3 separate regions of the Homo sapiens genome follow, and regions 1 and 2 are each linked to region 3. Evidence: promoter capture Hi-C in 16 types of primary human blood cells and fetal thymus (Javierre and others, 2016). All regions are on one chromosome and are shown on one strand. Each heading gives the region's core, a stretch centred on a gene start or on the middle of the fragment in contact. The rest is flanking DNA. Distances are from core to core; before and after follow the strand shown.

Evidence for each region. The method cuts DNA at HindIII sites, captures the fragments that hold promoters and counts their contacts. A CHiCAGO score of 5 or more calls a contact.
Region 1: a contact is called between a fragment that was not itself captured here and the fragment with the promoter of ACSM6 in region 3, in 1 of 17 cell types (total B cells). The highest score is 5.3, in total B cells.
Region 2: a contact is called between a fragment that was not itself captured here and the fragment with the promoter of ACSM6 in region 3, in 1 of 17 cell types (total B cells). The highest score is 7.0, in total B cells.

The regions. Positions count from the first base shown.
Region 1 is chr10:95,397,093-95,400,908 of GRCh38, reverse strand. SORBS1 (sorbin and SH3 domain containing 1) reads left to right here. Exons shown (of 33, transcript NM_001034954.3): 12 at 1,720-1,892; 13 at 3,626-3,689. Among named protein-coding and RNA genes, the nearest start is that of PDLIM1, 110 kb to the right of the region's middle. The HindIII fragment of the contact is 6,773 bases long and covers 1-3,816 here.
Region 2 is chr10:95,346,490-95,350,521 of GRCh38, reverse strand. All of the region lies in intron 25 of SORBS1 (sorbin and SH3 domain containing 1), which reads left to right. Among named protein-coding and RNA genes, the nearest start is that of PDLIM1, 58 kb to the right of the region's middle. RefSeq lists an enhancer at 2,957-3,609. The HindIII fragment of the contact is 3,355 bases long and covers 14-3,368 here.
Region 3 is chr10:95,192,322-95,196,713 of GRCh38, reverse strand. It overlaps ACSM6 (acyl-CoA synthetase medium chain family member 6), which reads right to left and starts at 2,476. Exons shown (of 11, transcript NM_207321.3): 1 at 2,411-2,476; 2 at 2,037-2,249. The coding sequence starts at 2,228. All of the region lies in intron 3 of LOC107984257 (a long non-coding RNA gene), which reads left to right. The HindIII fragment of the contact is 2,815 bases long and covers 462-3,276 here.

The sequences.
Region 1 (3,816 bases), core at 831-3,330, 200 kb before region 3:
TAATCTAATGCCGCCTCCTCCTCTGCTTCAATTTCTGGGGTTTTTTTTTTTTTTTCTTTTGAGACATTTAACCACCCACTTCTTGGAGTTCTGTCTTCCCTGGTTCAGTGGCACCTTGTGTACTTTTCTGGTTCATCTCCTGTCCCTCGGATTACTTTGCATCACTTTGGGGATTCTTTTGCCTTGCAGCTATAACTGTGGTGCCCTTCCATGCATGACTTTAGCGCTTTACTCTGGCCTTGCTTCTGTCCACCACTGAGCTCTGCCATCTCCCTGGCGTCAGCCATCACTTTTGGGCTGATGCCTCCAAAGTTGCACTCCTGTTAGGGTGTCTCACCTGGGCCCCTTCATAGTTCCTCTAGGGATCTCTAGGGCATTCCTACTTGAGTATCTTGCTGTCTTCTCAAAGTTACCATAGTCCATATGGAAGCAGCCATTTCTCCCTCCCATTCCTAACCCAATTCTAACTTCTCCATTTGGCTTAGGCCAGGCTTCCAGACTTGAAACCTTGGTACCATCTTTGAAAGAGGCAAGACAGGATGTGGTTCAGAGAGGACTGCTAGAGTCAGGTGGACATTAGGCCACATCACAGCTTGGCTATGAGCTGGTTGTGTGGCCGCAGGCAGGGTACTTTAACTTCTCTGTGTATTGATCCTTTAACTATTAAAAAAAAAAGGTGATAATAGTTTCTTCCTCATAGATCTTTGGGAGGATAAAATGAGAGAACGTAAATGAAGAGTTTATTGCATTGCTTGGCACATAATTAGCTCAGTAGTCCAGAGGCCCCCAAGCATTTATTTAAGCTGTTCCTCTGGAGCACCCTTCGCTTCCTGTGAGTCTGATTGGCTTCTCTTCTGAGAATCGGCCTTTGTCACCCTGCATTCTCATTGCTGGCTCACTTGGTTTTTCTGCCCACTAGACTGTAAGCTCCCTGAAGGCTAAGATTCTGGAATGCTCACCTTCATGTCCACAAGGCAGAGCACAATGTCTGCCCAATAAATAAATGTCATAGCTTGGAAGCCAGATTCTATTAAGTAATTTTATAATCTTAGGTCATATGTGGTATCTTTGTTAGTGCTCTATATCTTCCAGTCTTGAACAAAAATAATCTATAATGTATACTTAGCAATGTACAGCTTCCTGAACACTTTGGCATAAGTTATCCTGATAAGTCCTCTCACCACATTGCTGTGAGCTTGCCAATAGAAGTGTTATCCCTGTTTTTGGATAGGAAAACTGAGGCATGGAAAAGTTAAGTGACTTCCTCAAGAGGAATCGAAAACTTTCAAGTAATGTTAGCCCCATCCTGTGGTTCTACCTGTTCCTTAATTTCTAGAACAGTCAGAACTACTCAGTTGACCAGAGCACGATGTGCATACCTCTGCAAAGCTCTGATCACACTGTTGGCAAGGCTTTTTTTTTTTTTTAAGGACCAGATGATAAATATTTTAGACTTTGCAGGCCATATGGTTTCTGTCACAGCTACTCAACTCGGCCATCGTAGTGCAAAAGCACCCATAAATAATATGTAAAGGAATTGGCATGGTTGTGTTCCAGTAAAATCAGCCCATGGGCCAAAGTTTGCTGACCCCTGCTCTAAACAGAACTAATTCCAGTTGAGAATTAGCAGACACGCTTCCCCCCAGCTAGCCTGTTCAGGAGCGTTTTGTTTTGCAGCTACCAAAAGAGCTTCAGCTAACAATTGCTTTTCATTTCCAGATCCTGTCTCAGAAAGAAGAGTGGGAGAGCAGGACTCAGCACCAACCCAGGAAAAACCCACCTCACCTGGCAAGGCTATTGAAAAAAGAGCAAAGGATGACAGTAGGCGGGTGGTGAAGAGCACTCAGGACTTAAGCGATGTTTCCATGGATGAAGTGGGCATCCCACTCCGGGTATGTATATTGACTTAGAGGTCCTTCTTAGGCTTCATCTTAAGCTGTGACAAGTGTACACTCTGAGTACATGTGAACCCCATCACACCATCGTCTCTGTAAGCCCCATGAGTGCCAGATCCCCCAGAAGCTATGCTCCAGACTTGGTGTACAACAGCTTTTCCCAAAGTGGGTGTTGGATGTTATAAGTCCTATGAATAAAGGGTTTCGTGGTCAAGTAAATGTGAGGAAAAGCTGGGTGGACCAAGTCAGAGAGATTTCTCTGCTGTAGAACTTTTCAGAGGCTTTGAGTATGTGAGTGTTCTAGGGACAATGTTATGGGCAGTCTTCATTATTGTTCTGTGTGGAGCATGTTGAGAAATTCCTGGTCCAGGGTAAGAGAATCCTGGGGAGAGTGTGAGGCCCAAGGTCCCTTTTGACAGGTTCAGGAAGATCTCCCTGGATGGGAGATCACATGTCATCCAAAGTGAGTAGGGAACACTAAGGGAACCTCAGAATGGATTCCGCCAGCCAAGCCTCCAGGACAGAGCAGGTCTCATGGCATCCCTGACCCAGCTCTCCCCGGCAGCACAGGCCTGCCAGTCCTGCAGGCCCTAAGGAATTCCAGGGAACAGGCTCCAATGGGCAAGAAACATTTAACATAAAGCTAGGCAACTTTTGGAACTGGATTTGGGTGAATTCCATTCTTTTCCATGTGTCTACTAGACCATTGCCTGCAATATGTTCCACTGTGATTTCCATTTAACAAATATGTCCCTTTGGAAGAGGCCAATAGAAACCACAGTGGACTAAGCCTCAAAATAACTCTTCTCTGGTTCTAAGTAGTAATATAGAAGGAGAGTTATTCCTAAGAGAAATCACAGCTACCATTTGCTGAGTACATTATCTCATTTAAGCATCACTCATCCAAGTGAGTAATGGATACTAATATCATTTCCATCTTATAGATGAGGAAATGGGGACTCAGGGATTTGTTACTCATCCAAGATTGCACAGCTTGTGGGTGACAGAATGGTCTGTCTGACTCCCAAACCCTTACCCCTAACCGTCACGTTGGATGGCCCTTCCACTCACCTTCTCATCAGCTCTGTGACTTTGGGCAGTTTGCTTTGTCATTCTGTATCTCATTTCCTCTTCTGTAAAGTGGGAGTGAAAATATCTAGCCACCTATCTGTCACCTTCCTTGTTTTATTTTTATCTTAAAAAAAAAGCCCAACCATTCCAACTTTGTGGTTAGGGTGAAAACTCTGGCAGTGGATGCTATAACGAGTTATGTTTTAATGTATGCATTCTAAATCTGGCCCTATGCAAGGTGACTCGGATACATTGCTGTTGAATAATCTAGAATGGTTGGGGGCACAGCATGATAAGCAAATATCCTTTGTCTCTTATATTTCTAGGAGACTTTCCTTCAGTTTGGCACAGTCTATATATGGAGAGATTCTATCTAAAAGTGAAATTTTAAAAATTTAAAAATGGATACCTTTCAAGTGTATCCTCATCCACTGTTTTCAAAATCTGTATCCTTTCAGCCAAATATTACCCTGTAGATTGAGGTTTGGGACTCTTGGTTTTTCTCTTTCTAAAAAGTTTTGCCTTTTTAAAAAAGATAAATGTGGCTGAGTTTTGAATTCAGATATTGTTACTTTCCATTTTGATTTTGAAATCATAGGAGGTCTGAAATGTGTCAAGATAGTCATTTAATTTTGCTCTTTGCCTTTGTTTTTCTACAGAACACTGAGAGATCAAAAGACTGGTACAAGACTATGTTTAAACAGATCCACAAACTGAACAGAGGTACTGATTTTCATTTGTAGAAGCTGTGCTGTGCTATGTGCCAATACACGTTTTGTGGGCCTGAACTCACTTTGCTAGGATGCCAGAAGACTGGGTCCTGCAGTTGGACCTCATTAGGTACTGGTCT
Region 2 (4,032 bases), core at 442-2,941, 150 kb before region 3:
GATTATGAAAGCTTAATATTATAAGAGGAAAGAGAAGAACAAACTTTGAAGTGATTTTTATCCAGATCTTGGCCTCCTGCACTAAGGTCAACATGTCGAAATTCTCATGCTAGCCAAATGCTGTATCTTGCGTAAGAGTTTATGCTTTGCCATGTAACCCTTAAGTAGCGCTGCTGAAGATGATCTCTTTTAGGGAAAATGGGTAAGTCTGGGATTTAGGGTGGGAGCTAGGGGAATGGGGGAATAACACCCAAAGTATGTACTGTTTTATAACCTTTCAGTACAGTAGATTAATATTTGTTTCTATCTTTTTTATTTTATTTTTTATTTATTTTTCTATCTAGAGTATCATTGCCTATCTTTTTTATTTTAGAAATATGACTGGGCATAGTGGCTTACACCTGTAATCCCAGTACTTTGGGAAGTCAAGGTGGGAGAATTGCTTGAGCCCAGGAGTTCGACACCAGCTTGGGCAACATAGTAAGACCCCCATCTCTAATTAATTAATTAATTAGATAGATTGGTAGATAGCCAGGTGTGGTGGCACATGTCTGTAGTCCAAACTACTGAGGAGGCTGAGGCAGGAGGGTTGCTTGAGTCTGGGAGCTCAAGGCTGCAGTGAGTCATGATCATGCCGCTGCACTCCAGCCTGAGCAACAGAGCAAGACCCTGTCTCAAAAAAAAAAAAAAAAATGTGTCTGGGAAGAAGAGATAGTGAAAAGAGGGAACCAAATTAAAAGAAAGAAAGCTGGCTGGGTTTAGTGGCTCAAGTCTATAATCCCAGCACTATGAGAAGCTGAGCCAGTAGGATCACTTACGGCCAGGAGTTCGAAACTAGCCTTTGCACCATAGGGAGACCTCGTCTTTACAAAAAAATGTATATATATAGAAAAATTAGCCAGGCTTGGTGGCACACGCCTATAGTCATAGCCACTTGGGAGGCTGAGGTGGGAGGATCACTTGACCCCAAAAGTTCAAGACTGCAATGAGCTATGAACACATCACTCCACCATGGATGGCAGAGTGAGATCCTGTCTCAAATTTAAAGAAATTTGAGGCTGTCTCAAATTAAAAGAAAAAGGAAAGCTGGGGAAGAGAAGGAGACTCTAAAATGATGGAGAGAAAGAAAATCTATCAAGGAAGAAGCAAAAGTTAGCGAATGTTAATTGCAAGGGAAAGATAGCCCTTGAGCCCTCAACATTCCAGCTCCTCCTCAAAAAGGCCCTTCTCAGAAGGCTCTGGGCATGGTTTGTCCTCACTGACAGTCCTGCCTGCTTGTAGGTAGAAGAAGATGGGAACAGGTGAAGGCACTACGGCTGCACACTTACACATGTACATGATACATGCAAACAGAAATGCACCGTGGGTGGAATAACCACAGACAGAGGCAGGCAAACTCAGCTCAGTGAGCCTGCCTCCCTTCTAGAGCAATGCTTCTCAAACTCTGACAAGTGCGTTAGCATCCCCTGGAGGGCTTGGTAAAATACAGACCCTGGGTCCTATCTGCAAAGTTTCTGATTCTGCAGTGGGGCCTGAAAATTTACATTTTTAACAATTTCCCAGGTGATATTGATTATACCAGTTTAGGGACCACATTTTGAGAATCACTGCCCTAGAGGTTGACTGTGGACTAGAAAAAGTAGAGACCAACACATCCCAGGTGCACCACACTGTGTCAATGCACTTCAATCCCATTCGGTAGGACTTGGGTGACCACAGGTTCTGTGTAAGACCCTATGGGAGGCAGAAAGAACTCAGTCTGTGCCCTTGGGGAGCTGATAGTGGAAGTCTCCCTCTTATACAGTTATCTCTGTCCTGTAGTAAGTAATACAATACTGTGAAAGCCAGAGGAGGGAAAGATGGATTTAGCCTTGGGAGCTATAGGGAGATAAAGAAGGAGAGGATGTTGCTTTGTATAACCATCGATGACTCACATACACGTCTCAAGAGTTCAATGGAATCAGTGAATTTTAACAGGTCTTTAATGAAAAAAATCTCACCACCCCACATTATTAACCTAAGTCTGCTTACAAAGTAACCATAAACTACACAGCTATATAATTATATTGATTTAATTGATAGGAGATATTGTTTTGACAGAACTCAGTTACCAAAGTGTGAATGCTGTGCTGCTTTGGTATACATTTTTTAAAGTTCACACAGCTCTACAGCTGGGTGACATGAGGTAACCTACTTCCTTGTGTTTTTCTATTGAAATCACTGTGAAATTCGTATCCTTATAATTTTGGTCATTTAGTTTTCTCTTGTGAACTTGTCATTTATCATTAACCCCACATCCATTATTTTCTTGTTCACCTGCAACTGTGAAATTATGCCCTTTGGTTACAGACACAAACACAGGTATTGAAATTGTGTGGCTTTAACTAGATTATAAGGTGATCATTCACTTGGCCCCCGTACGTTTGGTATAGATGGGTAGATAGATGAAAACATCAATGTGAAAATGCAGACTTTAAAAATGCCTGTGGAAGGCTAGGCACAGTGGCTCACACCTGTAATCCCAGCACTTTGGGAGGCCAAGGCAGGAGGACCGCTTGAACCCAGGAATCTGAGACCAGCCTGGGCAACATTGTGGGACCCTATCTGTATAAAAGTTACCCAGGCGTGGTGGTGCATGCCTGTAGTCCCAGCTACTCAGGAGGCTGAGGTGGGAAGATCACCTGAGCCTGGGGAGTCAAGACTGCAGTGAGCCATGATTGTGCCACTGCCCTCCATCCTGGGCAACAGGGCAAGACGCTGTCTCAAAAAAAAGAAAGAAATTCCACAGCCGGGCGTAGTGGTTCACACCTGTAATCCCAGCACTTTGGGAGGCCAAAGTGGGTGGATCACTTGAGGCCAGGAGTTAGAGACCAGCCTGGCCAACATGGTGAAACCCAGTCTCTACCGAGAAATACAAAAATTAGCCTGGCGTGGTGGCACATGCCTGTAGTCCCAGCTACTCGGGAGGCTAAAGCAGGAGAATTGCTTGAACCTGGGAGGCAGAGGTTACAGTGAGCTGAGATCGTGCCACTGCACTCCAGCCTGGGAGACAGAGTAAGACACTGTCTCAAAAAAAAAAAGAAATTCCAGATAGAGGAGAGGGTAGGAGGGGGTTCAGCTGAGGTGTAGCAAATAGATTTGACTGGAACAGGAACAGTGTAGTAGAGATAAAGGCAATTCTGTAAGAGTAGGGAGAAACTACCCAAAGGCCTTCACCTATGGCAGGAATTGAGATTTGAACTGAGGGAAAGTTGAGAGCAGCAGCCAACTTCAAAGCAAGGAAGAGATGTGAGGAAGAATGTTAGGAATGTTATTTGTGCTCCTGGGTGACAGATTAGAGTGAAGAGAATGTGAAATCAAAGGAAGCTTTGTGTCAATGGAAACTAGATGTCAGCTTTGAGCAACAGGGTTGTGGAGGGATGGAGGTGTGGAGGGAGGTCCCTCCTGACTTAATGACACACTTGATCAGGAAGTGGAGAAGGGGCAGAGGCTGACTTGGACCTGGGCATCTGGGAACAGAGGGCTACCCAACAGGATTGGAAGTCTTGGCAGGAGTCATTTGAGCTCAGGGACCACTTTATCTGGCTTTTTGGATGATGTCACAGACCGTAAGAAATATATGGAGTTGGAGATGATGTGAGAAGTGAATCGGCATTTCACCTACTTGCATATCATAATTTAAGCAAGTAGATGTCTCTAAGGAATAAGACAGTAGATAAGGAACATCTTAGGACTTCTGGCTGACTTTGTCTTTTTGTTTGTTTGTTTTTTTAATAGCCATGGTTCACATGTTTTGAGGAACTGTTACCTCAGCTTTGGGACCTTTCTAACCATCTCTTCCCCAGATCTGGCTGTTTTTAGGGGGATTCTCATGAATGACATACATAGTTGACTAAACATTTATCTAGTGTTCTACTAAGGTCAGACAAATGCAATTTTGCCCAGATTTCTACACTAGAACAAACTGGCTAGAGTGAATTTTTCTGCTTTGCTTTCTAGAAATTTGTGAAAATGTGTCCTTGTTGTCCATGA
Region 3 (4,392 bases), core at 1,227-3,726:
CTTTCACAGCATAGTGTTTGGAGGAGAAAAACAGCAAGTAACAAGTCAAGTAACAAGTGTGATTCCAGGTTACAAATAGTTATATATAGAATGACTCCACTTTTGTGAAATCGGATGATCTATAAAAATCAGTAGAAAAGAAATATATATGAAAATTACCAGTGGTTATCTTTGGGTAATATTCCATATTAAAATTTTTTCATGTTTACCAGTATTTTCTAACAATTCTATGATGAAGTGCTCTTAAATGATAAAGGGTTGGAGCAGATGATTTGTAAAGTTCCTGCTGACTGACGTTTTGGGCACCTGTGATTGATGCCCCAAGTGACTTCAGACAACCAATGTTTAGTTGGGCTGACTGTGTGGCTTTTGGAGCCCAAGCCTTTGCTCACAGCTGCAGCCCTCTGAATTCCTTGGCACCCAATCACTGCTCATCTGTCTTGCCTCCCAGCCTGGAAGCTTCTGCTGGGTAGGGCCCAGCTGGGCCTTTGTCTGTAATCCATATGCTTAATCAAGAGCTGAGCAAAGGAACAAGGCTCTGCATGGTGCCAGATGCCATGCGGGCACAAAGAGATAAAAGGCACAACGCTAGCCCTAGAATCTTACTGGGACCCAGGACTCACACATAGTGCCTGGTGGTAGAACACAAGCTAAGAAAAGCAGAGGAGAGAGAAAGCAGCACAGGCTGGGCTGGGAAGGCAGAATGGGTGGGGAGGGCACCCCAAGAGGGGGCACAGCTCAGCAAAGATGAAAGCACCCCAAAGTCCTTCAGGATACATGCCTCAAACCTTTTCAAGGAGCTTTCACAATCCTTGCTCTACAGAATTTTTGTTCTTTGGCCCAAATGGGTAAAAATTAAGTCTCCTAAACAGAAGTCTTCCCTCTTATCTAACCCTAGATGATGCACCAAAGGCAGTAAGTATATTTTGCACAAAGACAATGAATTACTGTTTTGTCCACTTTCCTTACTCCTCCCAAAGCGGGTGATGAAGGTGGGGAGGGCCAGGAAGGGGCCTGGGGAGGGGAGGAGAATAGAGGGGCAATCAGATATTACACATGCAAATAACTCTCGCTGCTCACTCTCCACACGCACTGGATTCTCCTGCGGGCACCACCAGCCCCACTTGACAGAGGGAGGAAATGAGGCTCAGAGAGTTAAAATGACTTGCTCCAGAGTTACCTAGCCAGAGAGTAAGCAAGTCCACTCCACACAGCAGGGCCTTTCAAAATTAGACTGCTTCCTGCCTGTTTTCTCCTCATAACTCAATACTCTTCCCTCTGACCCTATACCTAGCCAAACTGTTCCTGAATACTCTTCCTTCTTTCCATGATGTCTCTATTCATGTGGTTGTTCCTGCCTAGACAGTCTTTCCCTTGTCTTTTTGTTGAAATTCTTCTCATTCTTCAGGATGCAGTAAATACCACCTCCTTTATCAAATCTTTCTAAATTCCATTATCCAGAGGCATACTTATACTTATTTCCTTTGGCACTTCTTTTTCAGCACTTTGTGGCTATCATTTGCTTTAAAGAAAAACACTACGCAGTAAGTTCCTTTAGTGTTTGGCTTCTAAAATTTTGTATGTGCTAGAAGATGCTCAAAAATGTTGGTTAATTAGAATCATATCTATGTGACAATAATATTACTAGTGATAATAAAAGCTAACTTTTATTGAGTGTTTTCAGGGTGTTGAGTCCTGTGCTAAACACTTTTTATTGATTGTCTCATTTAATCTTCTCGACAACACTGTGAAAAACACACCATTAATATCTCAATTTTACTGATAACAAAACTAAGGTCCTAGAAGGCAAATAACTTGTCCAAGTTTGCATGGTTATTTAGCAGCAGAGCCAGGATTTCAATGTAGAACCATCTGGCTGTCAAGCCTATGTTCTTAGTCATTTTGCTATAATTTCTTTTCTCTGAATTTGCACTTTCTAGTGCCAGCCATAGATGGGATATGAATCTCATGATCTTTGGACGCTTTACCAACTGGCCTTGGCCAAAGTTTCCAAGGTAGAAAACAACAAGTTTTACCTTTTCCAGCTGGGACCACTGATCCAACACATCCTTTGCAAAATTAAAGTTCTGAGAAACTGCTTGGACTAGGCACCTGGAGTCAGGGGGTCTGATGGTCTGAGTAGCACATTTTTGGTTTGGATAGCAGCAGGCTTCAAATCCCAGTCTGAAACTCCGGACCAAGGAGAAGGGTTGAAATCGGCCTAGCATTTGGGTCAGACAGGGAACCACCTAGGTAAATTGAGGAAAAGACAGGGAGTAATTGAGCAGCTCAGAGGGATAATCACTGAGATTGTAGTGCTGAGAATGAATCCATAAGGCAAACAATTTCCTTATGAGTACAAGCAACAGTCAGATCATTGGAGAAGAAGCCCATGAGCACAGATACTTACCAATTCCAAGAGGAGTTTCTATGGGGGGCTTCAGATGTTTGGAGGATGGTAGAGCTGTTGCCTTCTGTCTCCTCTGAGAACTGCTTACCTCTTATAGTTTAGTTGCCGGCTCTGGGGAAAAAGGCATTTCCTTGGTGCCAGCACAAACTAAGTCCTGGCTCACTTTCATTGGCTCTCAAGCCTAAAAGGCAATCTCTTTTGCTTCTGGGAGATAAAATCTATGGGCTGTGAGCTAAGTTGAAGCAACAGGTGTGCCTTGCTTTCTGATATGATGTCAGGAGAAATAGGTCACAGACTACTGTGCCAAGTGTGGTGAAAAGATGATGGACACAGAGTTTAAATAAGATTTTGTTGCTTACAAAATCCTGCACTGCAGAAAGGGAGAAGGGGGTTGCTCATCAGCCAGGTGAGGTAACCACACCCTGCCTCTTTAACCCACTGAGATGACAGGCCTTTTTTTTTTTTTTTTTTTTTTTTTTAAATAAATAGGCACATCGAAGGCCCTCTAGGGATTGCCTCTCGAGGTAGTGTAGGTGAAAGTCTCGTACTCAAGGTAGTGTAGGTGAAAGTCTTGCAACAATCAGGTAGGGAGCCAGATCTCATGATCCTCAGCGGGGGGCGGTGGGAGGGTCCACCTTGGAGCCTCAAATTAGCAAAACTAAAATTTGAAAGGGGGTGTGTATAACATATATTTAAAAGAGGTCACAATATTTGTTTAATAAAATATTGAAGATTTATTGTTTTGATAAGATTTTAACTTTATTTATAACTGTGTGAGGTGTAACTTGGTTACTGGTGGTTGAAGTTCTTCATCACAATTCCTATCCATGTTTCCAGTCGCCAGAGGGAGTAAAATAATGTAAGCTTTGGATGATGGGTTCACTTATTCGCATTCCAGAAATCTGAGATTTAATGGTTTCAATTTGATGATATTAACATTGTAACTATATCTAATATTAGAACTAAAATATTCCAATAAATTATCTAGTCCAAGTACTGCCTAAAACATCACGCTGCCTTTAAGATGAATAAACTCCTTATTGTGGTGCATTGGTTAGATATAAGTTTGGCTGCTTCAACAAAGACACAAAATAGTAAATTTGTTTCTTCAATTGACAGTCTGAGCATATGCAGTGAAAAGCTGTTTGTATTAGTCAGGGTTCTCCAGAAAAACAGAACCAATAGGAAATAGAGAAATAAAGATGAATATAGATACAGATATGTGAGAGGGACTTACTAGGGGAATTAGCTCATGTGATTATGGAGGCTGAGAAGTCCTATGGTGTAAGCTGAAGAACAAGAGAAGTTGGTAGTGTGGCTTAGTCCAAGTTTGAAATCTTTAGAACCAGGGAAGCCAATGGCCTAACTCTCAATTTGAGGCTGAAGGGCTGAGAACCTGAAGTTCTGATATCCAAGGGCAGGAGAATAAGGGTGTTCCAGTTCCAGGAGGGGGAGAGGTAGATAGACACACACACACACACACACACACACGGAAAGAGAGAGAAATTTTCCCTTTCTCAGCTTTTCATTGCATCTAGGCCCTCAGCCAATAAGATGGCGCCTACCACATTGAGGGTGGATCTTTCCCACTCAATCCACCTACTCACACACCAATATCCTTCAGAAGCACCCTCACAGGCACATCAAGAAATGAATACTTTACCAGATATCTAGGTATCTCTGAATCCAGTCAAGTTGACACCTAAAATCATCCATCACACTGGTTTAGTATCTTCACCCTTTCAGGGACCCAGATTCTTTCTGTAACGTTGCTCCACCATCTTTAGGGCATTTCTGAAACAACTTGCCATCACGTCCATATTCCATCCAGTGGGACGGGAGAGTGGTGAGGGGAAGAACATTCCCCTTGCCTAGGTGAATAACTAGAAATTTTTACACATTACCTCTGCTCATATTCCATTGGCGCAGACTTAAGTTATGTGGCTTCAGAAAGAGTCTGGGAACTGTGATCTTTATTCTGA